Linked DNA regions of Homo sapiens: regions 1, 2 and 4 are each linked to region 3. Evidence: promoter capture Hi-C in 16 types of primary human blood cells and fetal thymus (Javierre and others, 2016). All regions are on one chromosome and are shown on one strand. Each heading gives the region's core, a stretch centred on a gene start or on the middle of the fragment in contact. The rest is flanking DNA. Distances are from core to core; before and after follow the strand shown.

The links. Contacts are between HindIII fragments. The CHiCAGO score rates a contact against its expected background, and 5 or more counts as called.
Region 1: a contact is called between a fragment that was not itself captured here and the fragment with the promoter of CORO2B in region 3, in 3 of 17 cell types (neutrophils, M0 macrophages and naive B cells). The highest score is 5.4, in neutrophils.
Region 2: a contact is called between the fragment with the promoter of FEM1B here and the fragment with the promoter of CORO2B in region 3, in 1 of 17 cell types (endothelial precursors). The highest score is 5.6, in endothelial precursors.
Region 4: a contact is called between a fragment that was not itself captured here and the fragment with the promoter of CORO2B in region 3, in 1 of 17 cell types (total B cells). The highest score is 5.0, in total B cells.

The regions. Positions count from the first base shown.
Region 1 is chr15:68,898,550-68,901,800 of GRCh38, forward strand. No RefSeq gene overlaps it. Among named protein-coding and RNA genes, the nearest start is that of SPESP1, 30 kb to the right of the region's middle. The HindIII fragment of the contact is 1,775 bases long and covers 413-2,187 here.
Region 2 is chr15:68,275,481-68,279,020 of GRCh38, forward strand. FEM1B (fem-1 homolog B) reads left to right here and starts at 2,265. Exons shown (of 2, transcript NM_015322.5): 1 at 2,265-3,185. The coding sequence starts at 2,938. RefSeq lists enhancers at 2,261-3,162, 2,905-3,104 and a silencer at 2,545-2,874. The HindIII fragment of the contact is 2,784 bases long and covers 1,078-3,540 here.
Region 3 is chr15:68,577,038-68,580,371 of GRCh38, forward strand. CORO2B (coronin 2B) reads left to right here and starts at 1,956. Exons shown (of 12, transcript NM_006091.5): 1 at 1,956-2,240. The coding sequence starts at 2,226. RefSeq lists an enhancer at 2,144-3,011. The HindIII fragment of the contact is 45,013 bases long and covers 1-3,334 here.
Region 4 is chr15:68,880,584-68,883,793 of GRCh38, forward strand. No RefSeq gene overlaps it. Among named protein-coding and RNA genes, the nearest start is that of SPESP1, 48 kb to the right of the region's middle. The HindIII fragment of the contact is 1,080 bases long and covers 1,312-2,391 here.

The DNA.
Region 1 (3,251 bases), core at 50-2,549, 320 kb after region 3:
AAAGAGTTCATAAAGAGATTAATAACACAAACCACAGAATAGAAGTAGAAGCTATTTGGTAATACATATAACCAACAAAGGACTCTTATCCAGAAAATACATGTTTAAAAAAAAACACTAAAAATTATTAAGTAAGACATAACCCAACAAAAATTCCAGAAGTGGTGGGCAAGGCCAGAAACTCAGACAAATGATGTTGGTACCAAGACCAGGCTACACAGTGGCTGGACCAGCAGCTGGTAATCATGCAGACCCATGCTCAGCCTTTTCGCAGCGAGATGGAGCAAGTGCTGTGAGTGCTGGAGATGTTGGCATGCTGAGGATCTTACAGGCAGAGGATCCAAAGAGCTCGCTAGAACTGGTCGCAGAAGCCCCAGCCAGATTCTTAATGCCTTTAATTTTCCAGGGAAGAAGCTTCTCCATCACTGAACTGTTTCCATATTATAGATACTGTAATATCTATGGGTTTTCCTAATACTCATCTTTGTATTAGCTGGCGTTTTTACCCAACCAGGAAAGGAGTGGAGCCATGAAGCAGTGAGTGCCCAGAACTGGAAGAATTCTGAAGGAGATGGGACTGTGGACCATGTTCTCTCTCAGGCTAACATCTTAATAACAGCCTACTCTGTTCCAACCAGAAAGAATGAGAGAGGAAGGGAAGACGAACAGACAGAGACAGATGGACACATACTTATGAAGTGCCCACTGTGCTCAAGGAATTTGCTAGGGGCTTTCACATTTGTTGTTCACTTTGCTTCTTGTAACACTCCATTCTGTTGATGAGACGGGAGCCTCAGGAGAAATACATGGCTTGCTCAAGTTTAGTTTGTCAGTGATGTAGTTGGGATCTGATCTCAGGGTCTGTCTCATTTTTTTTTTGAGATGGAGTCCTGCTTTGTTGCCCCAGTTAGAGCGCAGTGGTGCAATCTCGGTTCACTGCAACCTCCGCCTCCCTGGTTCAAGTAATTCTCCTGCCTCAGCCTCCCAAGTAGCTGGGATTACAGGTGCCTGCTACACCACCTGGCTAATTTTTATATTTTTAGTAGAGACAGGGTTTCACCATGTTGGCAGGCTGGTCTCAAACTCCTGACCTCAAGTGACCCGCCCGCCTCAGCCTCCCAAAGTGCTGGGATTACAGGTGTGAGCCACTGCGCCTGGCCCTGTGACTCATTTTTCTAATTCCATGGCCTTGGAATCAGGTGTGTGTGAGCTTGGGTAATTATTTACCTCTGTGAGCTCAAGGCCCCTCTGTGAAATGATATCTGGCTAGTAGGAGCACCCTTGCAGGACTCTGCGCATGATGTACAGTAGTTGGTTTTACTGTAAATGTACTCAAATCCTTAGCACAGGATCAGGTACACTGAAGACAGTGAAGAGAAGGGAGTTAAACACTTTTGAAGTCATATTTTCTTTTCTCAGGTTCAACCACTCTGCTAGGAGAGAAAGGCAGAGAACAGGATAAGAAGATTGAGAGAGAGAGGTTGATTGTGAGGACGTAGTGTCTGGGACACATATATTTGGTCACAGAGTCATGACTTGAGGGGTGGCACGCTGAGAAGTTGCCTGTCTTACTCTCTGAGACTGAGCAGCTAAGATAGAAGGCTGAATATTGACTTGGGACAATACAGTCATGAGTTGCTTAACAAGAAGCCTATGTTCTGAGAAATATGGTGTTAGGCAATTTCATCACTGTGCAAACATCATAGAGTGTACGGTACTTACACAAACCTACACAGCATAGCCTACTACACACCTAGGCTGTATACTATAGCCTATCACTCCTAGGTTTGTAAACCTGTACAACATGTTACTGTACTGAATACTGCAGGCAGTTGTAACACAATGGTAAGTATTTGTGAATCTAAACATATCATTAAAAGGTACAGTAAAATATGGTATTTATAACATATTTTATAAAAATATGATGGTTTCTACCCTGGACTAGCTAAGAGATCTGAGGCTAGCAACTGTCCACAAACCTCCTCCCTCTTCCCCCAACCAAAGCCAAAAATATCTTACCCACCATTTCTTAAAACAAAACAGCCTGCAAAACCATTCAGCATTCTGCAGTAGAAAACACAAAACTCAGGTTGCCCCATTGAAGAAGGCCAGAAATCTTTGGAACATCACCCACTTAGGAGCATCCTGCCTCTGCTATTCACTGCCAGAAGTTATTTTACAAAGCCAAGCTTCTGTAGACCGTTCACAGCATGGGCTGGCCTTAATGGAGAGCTGGGCAAGGAAAATTCCCTCCTTCGAGCCTGGGCTGAGGAAAACCTCACCTGAGGAATGAGGGCCATTCTTGTTTATTATGATTGAATCACTATGCATATTACTTTCATATGTAATGCATTTGCCATTCTGAAGTATGCAGTGGGGATGGGGGTACTCCCACTTAGCCAAATCAAAACCCAGGTCCCAAGATTCTCAGTAGAAGAGATGGGCTCCCTTCACTCGGGAGGTCCCAGGGTGGCTGCAAGTACTCTCCTTGTACTATTAGGGTTGTTTTGGCACCTCCTCTTGGCAAACCCTAACAGAGACACTGTCTTTGTTTCTCAATCCCTGCTACAGACTGAAATTATCTGGGAAATTAAAAAAATATATATGATGACAAGCCGCTACCTCCAGCTATTCTGACTTAATACATTTGCATTGAAGACAAGGATTTGGGGTTAAAAAAAACTCCCCAGGTGATTGTGATGTGCACCCAAGTCAGAACCAAGTGCTATACCGATTTCATGTAAAATTGTTGATTGATTTATGTCTTCCACTTCTTGAGCTCCTGGTATATGCCAGGCACTGAAGCACTAATGAACAGAAACAGGCAAGGCTCTTACTCTCATAAACATTACAGATATTCGTCAGATAATTACATAAGCAAATAATTTGGAATTATAAAAGTACATGGTGCTTGGGGCTGGGCGTTGGTGGTGCACGCCTGTAATCCCAGCACTCTGGGAGGCGAAGACGGGTAGATCACTTGAGGTCAGGAGTTCGAGACCAGTCTGGCCAACATGGTGAAACCCCATCTCTACTAAAAATACAAAAATTAGCCGGGTTTGGTGGTGGGCGCCTGTAATCCCAGCTACTCAGGAGGCTGAGGCAGGAGAATTGCATGAACCTAGGAGGTGGAGGTTGCAGTGAGCTGATAGTGCCACTGCACTCCAGCCTGAGTGATAGAGCAAGACTCTGTCTCAAAAAAATAAAAAAATGTACATGGTGCTTGGGCAGATAGGGAGGGAAGGGGTAAG
Region 2 (3,540 bases), core at 1,015-3,514, 300 kb before region 3:
AAGCAACTTTGATAAACACAGAAGAAAACAGCAGCCCAAACCTCCTGACTTTGGGCTGCTGGAGCAAAGAGGTATTCCCATCTTGGGATGGAGGCCACACAATGCAAGTTCTGAGCCCCTCTCTAGCTTGACCCTTGGAGCAGTCACCCCTTGTAGTACCCATCCAGTTATACCACCAAACTGAGGTAGAGAGGGCACGAGGAAGAAGGGAGTCTCTTATTCAGCAATGAGTCTGGATGAATCAGGTCTCCCTTAGAAAACAAAACTGGAAGAAGGGGCCTGTGTCTGGACTTTTTTACATCACCTTCTTCAGAAAGTTGGTTCGGAATAGAATGTAGAATGATTCAGGAACATAATAGGGTAAAAGGCTATGAGGAGATGGTTTTTCTAAAGAGCCAGGCACTCCTCCAGGTCAGCTTGTGCCCAGGTAATCAAAGTGTGTTGGCAGAGGAGAGGGAGGGTGGTAGGGAGACGGAGTTAGAGATATGGAGAGACAGAGAGAGATAGAAAGGCAGAGAGGAGACAGATGGTAGATGAGGTGCATGCTTGCCGTATGGAGCCAGAAAAGGAAGTCATCACACATCTGAATGTGTGAATCCGAGACCAAAAAGCCTGGGTCCCTGTCAAACACTGGGTTTTTTCATGACCCTGAAGTCCCCAAATAAACCAGCCAGCTTCCCCCACTTCTCTATCAGCTATTTCAGAGACGCTACCAGTAGAATCTTACCTTCAGCCCTTATTGCCAATGCTGTTTTTGTTTATGGTAAGGAGAAAAATAACTCGTGTTTCTGTAGGGATCTGCAATAAGTGGGTAAAGCTGAGCTGTAGAATGGAGAGAATTTGAGAAGTGACCCACACCTCCACCAATAGCTGCAATGGAAGTGAGGCCTTTACCTCCTAGAATTGGAATGGTGGGGTTCAAATAAAATAATGTATGTGAACTTGTTGAGCCGAGCCCAGTCCCTTGGAGCCACATAAATGCATTTGTTCTTTCTCTATGGTAAATTTTGTCCTTTGGGGAAGGGAGGAAGAGGGAGGAAGTCACTTTCATATTGAGTTTTTTGAGACTGTCCCAGAAGCTTCATCACCTACCATTCACTCCTACCATCCTAATCCAAGGCCTGTCCCCCTATCTACTCTTGCCTTCCAGAGTTTATTCTCCATACAGCAGCCAGAGTGATCTTTTTAAAAAACACAAATAGCATCTTGTCACTTCCCTCTTTAAAACCCTTCAAATGCCCCCATCACAGAGTAGACTTAAACCCTTTGCTATGGGTTATTAGGCCCTAACGTGTGTTGCATCCTCTGACTTCATCTATCATTCTTACTGTGGCCCACTCTGCTGCAGCCACACTGACCTTTCTGTTTCCGAGCTCACCAGACTGTTCCCTCCTCAGGACTTTTATATTAGCTGTCCCCTTTGCCTAGAATACCGTCTGTTCTTGTCACTTGTCATAGAGGTCTTGTCTGATCACCCAAACTAAATGAGTGCCCCCATCATTCTATTTCATTTGCTTCAGAGCAAATGGTAATGATACCAGTTCAACTGATCTTGTCTATCATTTGTTGACTTATTTGTTCCATTACTGAATCCCTAGTGCTAAGCAGAGCCTGGCACGTAGTCGACCTCTAATATTCATTGGATAAACGATCGTTTCAAATCCTAACAACAATCTTGTGATGTCTGTGAGAAAACGGAGGTTCTGCCGGCTCAGGATGAGATTCCTGCTCTGTCTGAACGCGGGACTCGCTTTCCTTCCCAGGATACCTCGCTCCTTCCACCGCGAGCGCAGCTCCCCTTCGCTCCCATCTTTCTCTCACACTTAACCCCTTTCTCCGGGAAAGTCAGGCCGTACTTCCAGTCCCTTCTCAGAGCCTGGTGTTGTGGCTCTCAAGCCCTCCCACATTTCGGGAACTCAGAAACGCCGCCCTTTTCCTGAAATGGACCCTCCGAGTACGCGCAACCCCTTCCCTAACCCCGGCTCAGGGGCAGAAGCAGGACCCGCACCGTCTATAGTAAAATAGGGTGGTCTCCTTAGCCCATCAGCTTAGCGCCCTCACTCCGCCCCCACTCCCTGGCTGGAGACCCTCAGGGCCGTTTAGGGGCCAGGAGGAGGTTCCAGGAGTCAAGGACATTGAGGACATCCAGGCCCAAACGGGATGGGCCAACTACGCGCAGCAGAACCTTTCTCTACCGGGCCCGCGTGTGCCCGCCGGTCGGCTTAGGCGGAGACACCCCACTTAGCGTCCCTCCCGCTCCCGCCCTCTCCTCCCGGCCCTGTCTGCGAAAGCTCGTCTTCCTCCCCGCCCAAGTTCCGGCGCCGCTCTTGCGGGAGCGTTCCGCATCGCCCCGGGGGCCCCTACGCGAGGATCTCCGGGGCCGTTGGCAGCGCCTGGCACTTCTGAGCTCGGCGGACGAGAGCCTGCAGGTTTCCTCCAGTCAGGGACGGCGAAGGGCGGAAAGCGCAGGAGGAGGCAGTGTTAGGCCTTAGGCCGGGTGGGCCGGGTCAGGAGAGACGCGCCCATCTTTCGCCATCCGGGGTGCGCGAGGTCCTCTCGGGACCCGGCCGGCGACCCGTAGCTCGGGCACGCGCCTGTCGCATCCCGCAGGAAGGAGGGGTCCGGCCTGAGGCCCGGGGCGGCGTCCGCCATGGAGATCCCCTCGGTCCAGGGCCGGCGCCTGGGACCTGGCGGGCGGCCCTGACCGCCTTCCTCCCTGCGCGGGCTGGGTCGCGGACGTGCCCTTCGCGGCACTCGGCCTCCTCTGCGTCTCCGCCTTCCCTGGGCCGCACTGCTGCCTGGGCGCGGCGGCGGCGACGGCGCCCTGTTGAATGGGCTGTGAGGGCCCAGGTTTAAAGCGCTGGCGAACGCGGCCTCCGGGGGCGCACGGCAGCTGCAGCGGTGGCGACCAAACGGGTGTTGGAGTTGGCGGCGGCCATGGAGGGCCTGGCTGGCTATGTATACAAGGCGGCCAGCGAGGGCAAGGTGCTGACTCTGGCCGCCTTGCTTCTCAACCGGTCTGAAAGCGACATCCGCTATCTGCTTGGCTATGTCAGCCAGCAGGGAGGGCAGCGCTCCACGCCCCTCATCATCGCAGCCCGCAATGGACACGCAAAGGTGGTACGCTTGCTCTTAGAACATTACCGGGTGCAGACTCAGCAGACTGGCACCGTCCGCTTCGACGGGTAGGTACATCCCAAGCCAGCCTCTCTCCGACGCGCGCGGACTCGTTAATTCACGGGCCCTCCCCTCCCTCACCCTCTCTTACCCTCTCTTCATGTAGGTACTCACTTCTCCCCTTTTTGTACCACCTCCTGCCCCACTAATGCCCACTTCATCTTCCAGGGCTAATAATCCATCCCATGTTTTGCTGCCCGTCCTCATCAGCCCCTACCCCTCATTCCCTCTGTGGGAAGATAACCACACCCTCGGCCTTGAAATCTAATAGTCGTCTTCTCTACTAGATAGTCTGTGAACAAGCCATTTGGAGGAGGTGGCTGCCTTTCCAGGTTTTACTTTTAGTGGAACTGGTGATGTAAC
Region 3 (3,334 bases), core at 706-3,205:
AGAGAGCATTCCTGGCAGGCAAGCAACGTGGGAAGATGCCTTAGGAAGGGTTTTGCACAGAGGAGACGCCTGAGGTCTGCAGCACATCTGCTACCCAAGAGATTTAGTAAGTCCCTGGAACTCCCCTGGGGAACGAATAGCTGCCTACCTATGTCCTAAGACACCTGTGAAACTCAAATAAGGCAGCAAGTAGGAATGGACCCTGCAGTTCACGGATTCAAAGCACAATGCTGAGCTTGATTTAAGAAGACTTTCATTCAAGTCCTCGCTCTGTCACTGTGTGCTCTTGGGCAATTCCCTTCCCTTCTCTAAATCCGTTTACTCATCAGCAAAATGGGGACGGTAATTCTTTCCTCACACTGTTGCATTTAGGACTCCCAAGAAAATGTGGTTAAAAATGGCAGGGCCGGGGGCGGTTGCTCATGTCTGTAATCCCAGCACTTTGGGAGGCCGAGGCGGGTGGATCACGAGGTCAGGAGTTCGAGACCAGCCTGGCCAATACGGTGAAACCCCGTCTCTAATAAAAATAAAAAATTAGCCGGGCGTGGTAGCGCGTTCCTGTAGTCCCAGATCCTCGGGGGGCTGAGGCAGAAGAATCGCTTGAATCCAGGAGGCGGAGGTTGCAGTGAGCCGAGATCGCGCCACTGCACTCCAGCCTGGGCGACAGAGTGAGACTACTCCGGTCTCAAAAAAAAAAAAAAAAAAAAAATTGCACAATGACCCACAAAGCACTTCCTGGAGGCTGGTTACTCTATTATTATTGCTCCAATCTAGACACTGGTCTCCCGGAAGGCAGGCATCCCATCTCCTCTCTGTTCCCCCAGCACTTTCCACAGAGCAGGTGCTCATATATGACGTTGCCTTCGCTGTCCAGGTGAATTGCACCGGTAATTACCGTGGAGCAGGAAGCCAGCACTTCCGGGCTTGCCAGGCTGTCCTGCTTGGAGAACCCCTCTGCTTCCACCTCTGCTAACTCCTCCCCTCCACCCTCTCCGCGGTTCTGTATCTGCGGAAACCGGTTCTGCTCAGGTGCTTGGGAGGGAGACTCCTTTCTCAAGACTTGCGAGGTCACCTTCAGGTGACTGTCCCTCAAATCTCCGCAGCAGCTCCAGGACACACTGTGCCCCGAGTCAGGATTGGATCAACACACAGGACGCACCTGTGTTATCACTCCACCAGTAGAGCGGCACTCAGTGGTAGTGTAGACAGTCCTAGGGCAGGGCAGCTTCTATAACAAGAGGTTCCTTAGGGAGCTAGCGGCCGAGTGGAAAGAGCGGGAGGAACGGCTCGGGCAGGCAGGTCCTGTGCTGTGGTCTAAGTCACTTCCCACGTCCGTCCCACTCTGATCGTCAGTTTCCTCCTCTGCAAAACTCACTAAGGCGGCCTTCGGGCAAGTCATCGCGGCGGGAATTAGATTCGAAAGAGTGCTTACACAAATCCGTCTGGCCACCCTGTGCCCCGGGCCAGCGCGAGGTGGGGGTGCGGGCAGGGCTCCCGGGCTTGCGGCTGCCACGCCCCTCCCAGCCCGCCGCGCCACACTCACGGCCCACGGGCCGACTTTGCGAGCCTCCAGGGGGCGAACCCGACCGCCTTCTTTGCCCGCGCAGCGCCTCGGCCGTCCAGCCTGTGACTTCACCAGCGTCCCCGGGCCAGCGGGACACCCGAGAGCCCGGGGCGCCGCCCGTTCTCCCAGCCGGCAGGTGCCGGGAGCCAGCCTCGCCCAGCCGCGTGGCGTCCGCAGGCCCGAAGGGGTTAAGGCCGCGGACCCGGGCGCCCGTCCGGACTCCGGGAGCAGCGGTGCCCGGCGGCCGGCGATCGAGCGGGAGGCTCGGGGCACGGCCGCTGGCGGGCTGCGCTTCCTCCTCCTCCTCCCTCCGCCTCCTCCTTTGTAGCGAGTTCCCGGCCCCTCTTCCTCCCCCCGCCCCCCAGCCCGGGCCCTCTCCCTCTCTCCCTTTCTTCCTGCCTCGCCTTCCTGCGGCGAAGGAGGCTCATCTATTATAAATGCACATTCGGGGCTGACATCAGCGACGAGCGGCGGGCGAGCGCCGACGAGCGGTCCCTGCGCGCTGCCCGCCCGGAGCGCAGCCCCCAGGCTCGGCCGAGCCGCCGGCGGGGCGCGGGGAGCGAGCCGGGAGCTGCCGGACCCCCTTCCGCCGCCGCCCCGGGCCGCCGCCGCCGCCCCCGCACGCCGCGCCCGCGCCCCCGCTCCGCCGCGGAGTTTCTGCATGACTGTCACAAAGGTAAGCGCCGCTCGCCCGCCGCGCCCGGGACCCGCCGGCGCCTGCATCCCCCGGGCTAGGCTGCGGGGGGCGCGGGGGTGTGGGTGTGGGGAGGGGGCGCCGGTGCCGGGAAGGTGCGGCGCGCGCCTCTCTTGCTGCCGGATCCGCTCGAGTCACTCCGGCCCCCAAGGACTGCGGAGGCCAGGGGGAGGATGCCGCTCTGGCAGCCCCGGCGGTTTGGCCAACATCCCTCCGCGCCCGGCCCAACCCCGGGACTGCATTTTTAACCCTTGTTTGGGATGCTGCATTTTTAACCCCTGGAGAGCTGGGCTGGGCGGCTAGCGGTGTCCCTCCAGGGAGTGCGCGGCGGGAAGCGTCGCTGGCAGGGGCTGGTGCTGAGCAGTGGGTGTGGGGATGGGCCTGCCGCCCCGAGGAGGCCAGCGGAGGGGAAACCCCACCCCACCTGCCAGCCTCTGCCGCCCATGCCGGGAGCGCTGGCTCCACTCCAAAGCCACTCTGTGCAGAAGGCGCTGCCCAGTCCCGGGAGCCGCTACCAGAGACAGGGCAGGTCCAGGTGGTTGGCTTGAAGATGTGGGGAGGGAATGTGACAGGGGAAGCAAAGGTGGGCATCTTGGCAGCCCCCATATTGGAGGATGATTGTTGGGCCTTGTCATAGGGGCCCACGTTTATTGGAGAGACTTCAGGGGCTTCCTAGTTGTAGGGAGGAAAGAGTTAAGAGGAAAGATGATGGGGCAGTGGAAAGTGCCAGGGTCAAGGGACCAGGGAGACCTGAGTTCAATCCCAGCTCTATCCCAGATCCCCTGGATGACCTTGGTCGGGGAGGGGTCCACTTTGGGCCTCAGTTTCTTCTTGTGTGCTGTGAGGGTGATAATATGGGTCCTGGGTTGTGACAGGCTGTTAAAGAACCAATAACATCAAGGGTGTGAACCCACACTCTTCAGAGAGATCTGTCTGGGTACTGAGCTCACAGTCTGGCGGTGGCCTCGGGCTTGGCCGTCCATTCAAGGGCCAGACTCCACCCTTTCCAGCTGCCCAGCTGGGTCCCAGAATTGGGGAGCTGGAGGCCAAAGTGGGACCGGCAGCCCAGAGTGGGG
Region 4 (3,210 bases), core at 602-3,101, 300 kb after region 3:
GGCAGGGGCTGCAGAATACTTTCAACATCTTGCCTCAGACTTATACCAGCTCTAAGGTCCTGCGCTTCAGTTTTGTACTTAGGAATCTTGATCATATCACTAACCCACAGGACACAGCCCTGGCCCTCCACAAGGATGCTATTTTGCTAAGAAGGCCTGATGAGAAGGAGGGGGGCAGGTGCCCTGGCTGACTTTGTTAAGACACACACACGCTGAGGGTGGGAAATACGCAGTATTCCATGCTTTCACTTTCCGAGGTTTTAGTTACTCACGGTATAGTAAAATAAGATATTTTAGGGGTACAAAAAATAATTGGAACGAATAAGATCTAGTATTTGCTAGTATAACAGAGTGACTATAGTAAAAAATAATTGTACATTTTAAAATAACTAAAAGAGTGTAATTGGTTTGCAACACAAAAGATAAATGTTTGAGATGAAGGTAAATAATTGCATTTAACCTGATGCGATTATTATACATTGCATGTATTAAAATATCTCACGCACCCCGTAAATATATACTCCTACTGTGTACCCAAAAAATTAAAAATAAATTAAAAAATTTAAAAAAGGACTGCGCATGGTGGCTCATGCCTGTAATCCCAGCACTTTGGGAGGCCGAGGCGGGTGGAGCACCTGAGGTCAGGACTCAAGACCAGCCTGGTCGACATGGAGAAACCCTGTCTCTCCTAAAAATACAAAAATAAGCCGGGCATGGTGGCAGTTGCCTGTAATCCAAGCTACTTGGGAGGCTGAGGCAGGGAGAATTGCTTGAACCCAGGAGGCACAAGTTGCAGTGAGCCAAGATCATACCACTGTACTCCAGCCTGGGTGACAGAGTGAGGCTCCGTCTCAAAATAAATAAATAAATAAATAAAAATTAAAAAAAGATATTTTGGGAGAGAGATCACATTTATATGCCTTTTATTACAGAATATTGTTATAATTGTTTCATTTTACTATTAGTTACTGTTGTTAATCTCTTACTGTGCCTAAGTTATAAGTTAAACTTTATCATAGGTATGTGTGAATAGCAAAAACATAGAATATATGGGGTTTGGTACTATCCATGGTTTCAGGCATGTACTGGGGGTCTTGGAACACACCCCCTGTGGATAAGGGGGGACTACTGTACTCAGGTTAATTTTATTCAAGTGAGAAAAAATGGTTCAACTGTAAGTATATTCTCAGGGTGTTTTGATGACATCCATACAGAAGGATAAGTCTCCCTCATGAAACGTTAATGAAAAGGCTCATGGGACCCTACTTCTCCAACATCTGGTGTCTTTGGGGGAAGAACAGGGCCATAGAAAGCTTTGGGTGTAGACTCTAAAGACTGAGGTTGCAACCTCAGAATTTCAAAATAGTTTAGTATCAGACAACCTGACATTCCTATCCATGTTTTAGCCATCGTGTACCATAAAACGATTTGACCCTCTTCGACGTCCATCCATCATGTGCCAGCCAGCCACAGGGTGAGTTTTGTTGACCCTCACAAGTGCCACAATTCACTAAGGTGTACAGAAGCCATGTAGTGGAGTAGCGCTGAAGTTGGAGTCTCAAATTTGTACTCTCTTGGATGGTAAATATACATCTTCAGGCACATTTAAAAAACAACATGTTGTTATTTAGAAGTTGTTAAAAAATAACATCGAAGGCCATAGCATGGTGTGGGACCGTCCCCTTTCCAAAAGAATCCATTAAAACCCTATCAATTCATGTATCCATGTATCCCATTCAGCCCTTTTGAGCAGAGGCAGACAGCTTATTTTACGTAGTATAAAGATTAGGGAGGGTGATCTAGGAGCTAAAATATGGAGAGAGTCCTTCCTTAGACAGAGTGGTAGAATTTGGTATTGGGAAATTTCTGAACTGATAATCCAATCAAAATCAGATGCATTGGTGGGGTGCTGTGGCTCACGCCTATAATCCCAGCACGTTGGGAGGCCGAGGCGGGTGGATCACGAGGTCAGGAGTTCAAGACCAGCCTGGCCAACATGGTGAAACCCCGTCTCTACCAAAAATACAAAAAAAAAAATTAGCTGAGCATGGTGGCACATGCCTGTGATCCCAGCTACTCGGGAGGCCGAGGCAGGAGAATTGCTTGAACCAGGACCCAGGAGGCTGAGGTTGCAGTGAGCCGAGATCGTGCCACTGCACTCCAGCCTGGGCTACAGAGGGAGACTCAGCCTCAAAAACAAAAACAAACAAACAAACAAAAAAAACAAAAAAACAAATGCATTATAGTTCTGTTTTCAGAGGCAGCCCAGCTTCACCCATTTTGACGATGCATTTTTCTATGTGGTATAGAAAATTAAAGAAGGCTTCTCTGGATGCCGTTCTAATTGTACCAAGTTTGAATCAATCACTTTGTAAGTTGAAGTATTCAAAAAGCTTATATAACCAACTACATGCTCACCATTTAAACATTTTTTTACAACATATATTAGAAAATACCCTCCCTCCAATATTTTACAAATAGAACTTATGTTTGCAGTTTCTTTCTAAGGTAATTGTAAAATCTGACTTTGATTATTTCACATATTAAAAATGATATAAAGGCTTATATCATAGATTTAAAGGCTGAGTGGTTTACTCTGTGTTACTCAGCTCAGCACTGCTAAGGCTGCCACTGTCAGGTACGTTGTGCCACCTGATGTGAGGCCGAATGAAGCACATGGCACTGCACTTGCAGTATCCTTCCCTAAAAGAGAAAAACAGTAAATCTAATCAACCAGGAGAATCAAACATCATGGTGAACAGCATCACAGAAATACAGTCAGCCTCATGGTACCCGTATGTCAAAAGATATCACCACTTTTCAGATTACTGGTATACATGACTGAACTGGTTCCAGAAAGTTAAAAATGTATGTACTCACCATAGTGAGCAGAAATTCATCTTACTGCAGAATTGCTTATTAAAATCAATTTTAAGTAATGTGCACTATTTGAATTTGGCAAAATGATATTTGTATTGCATGAATTTGCAAACAATTGAGGTTAAATGTATTTTTTTGCCTATTAGTTATTTTTGTTTTTTTCTTTTTCTTTTTTTTTTTTTTGAGATGGAGTCTCTCACTCTGTCAGCCAGGTTGGAGTGCAGTGGTGGATCTCAGCTCACTGCAACTTCCACCTCCCAGGTTCAAGTGATTCTCCTACCTCAGCCTCCCTAGTAGCTGGGATTACAGGTGCCCACCACCACACTACTC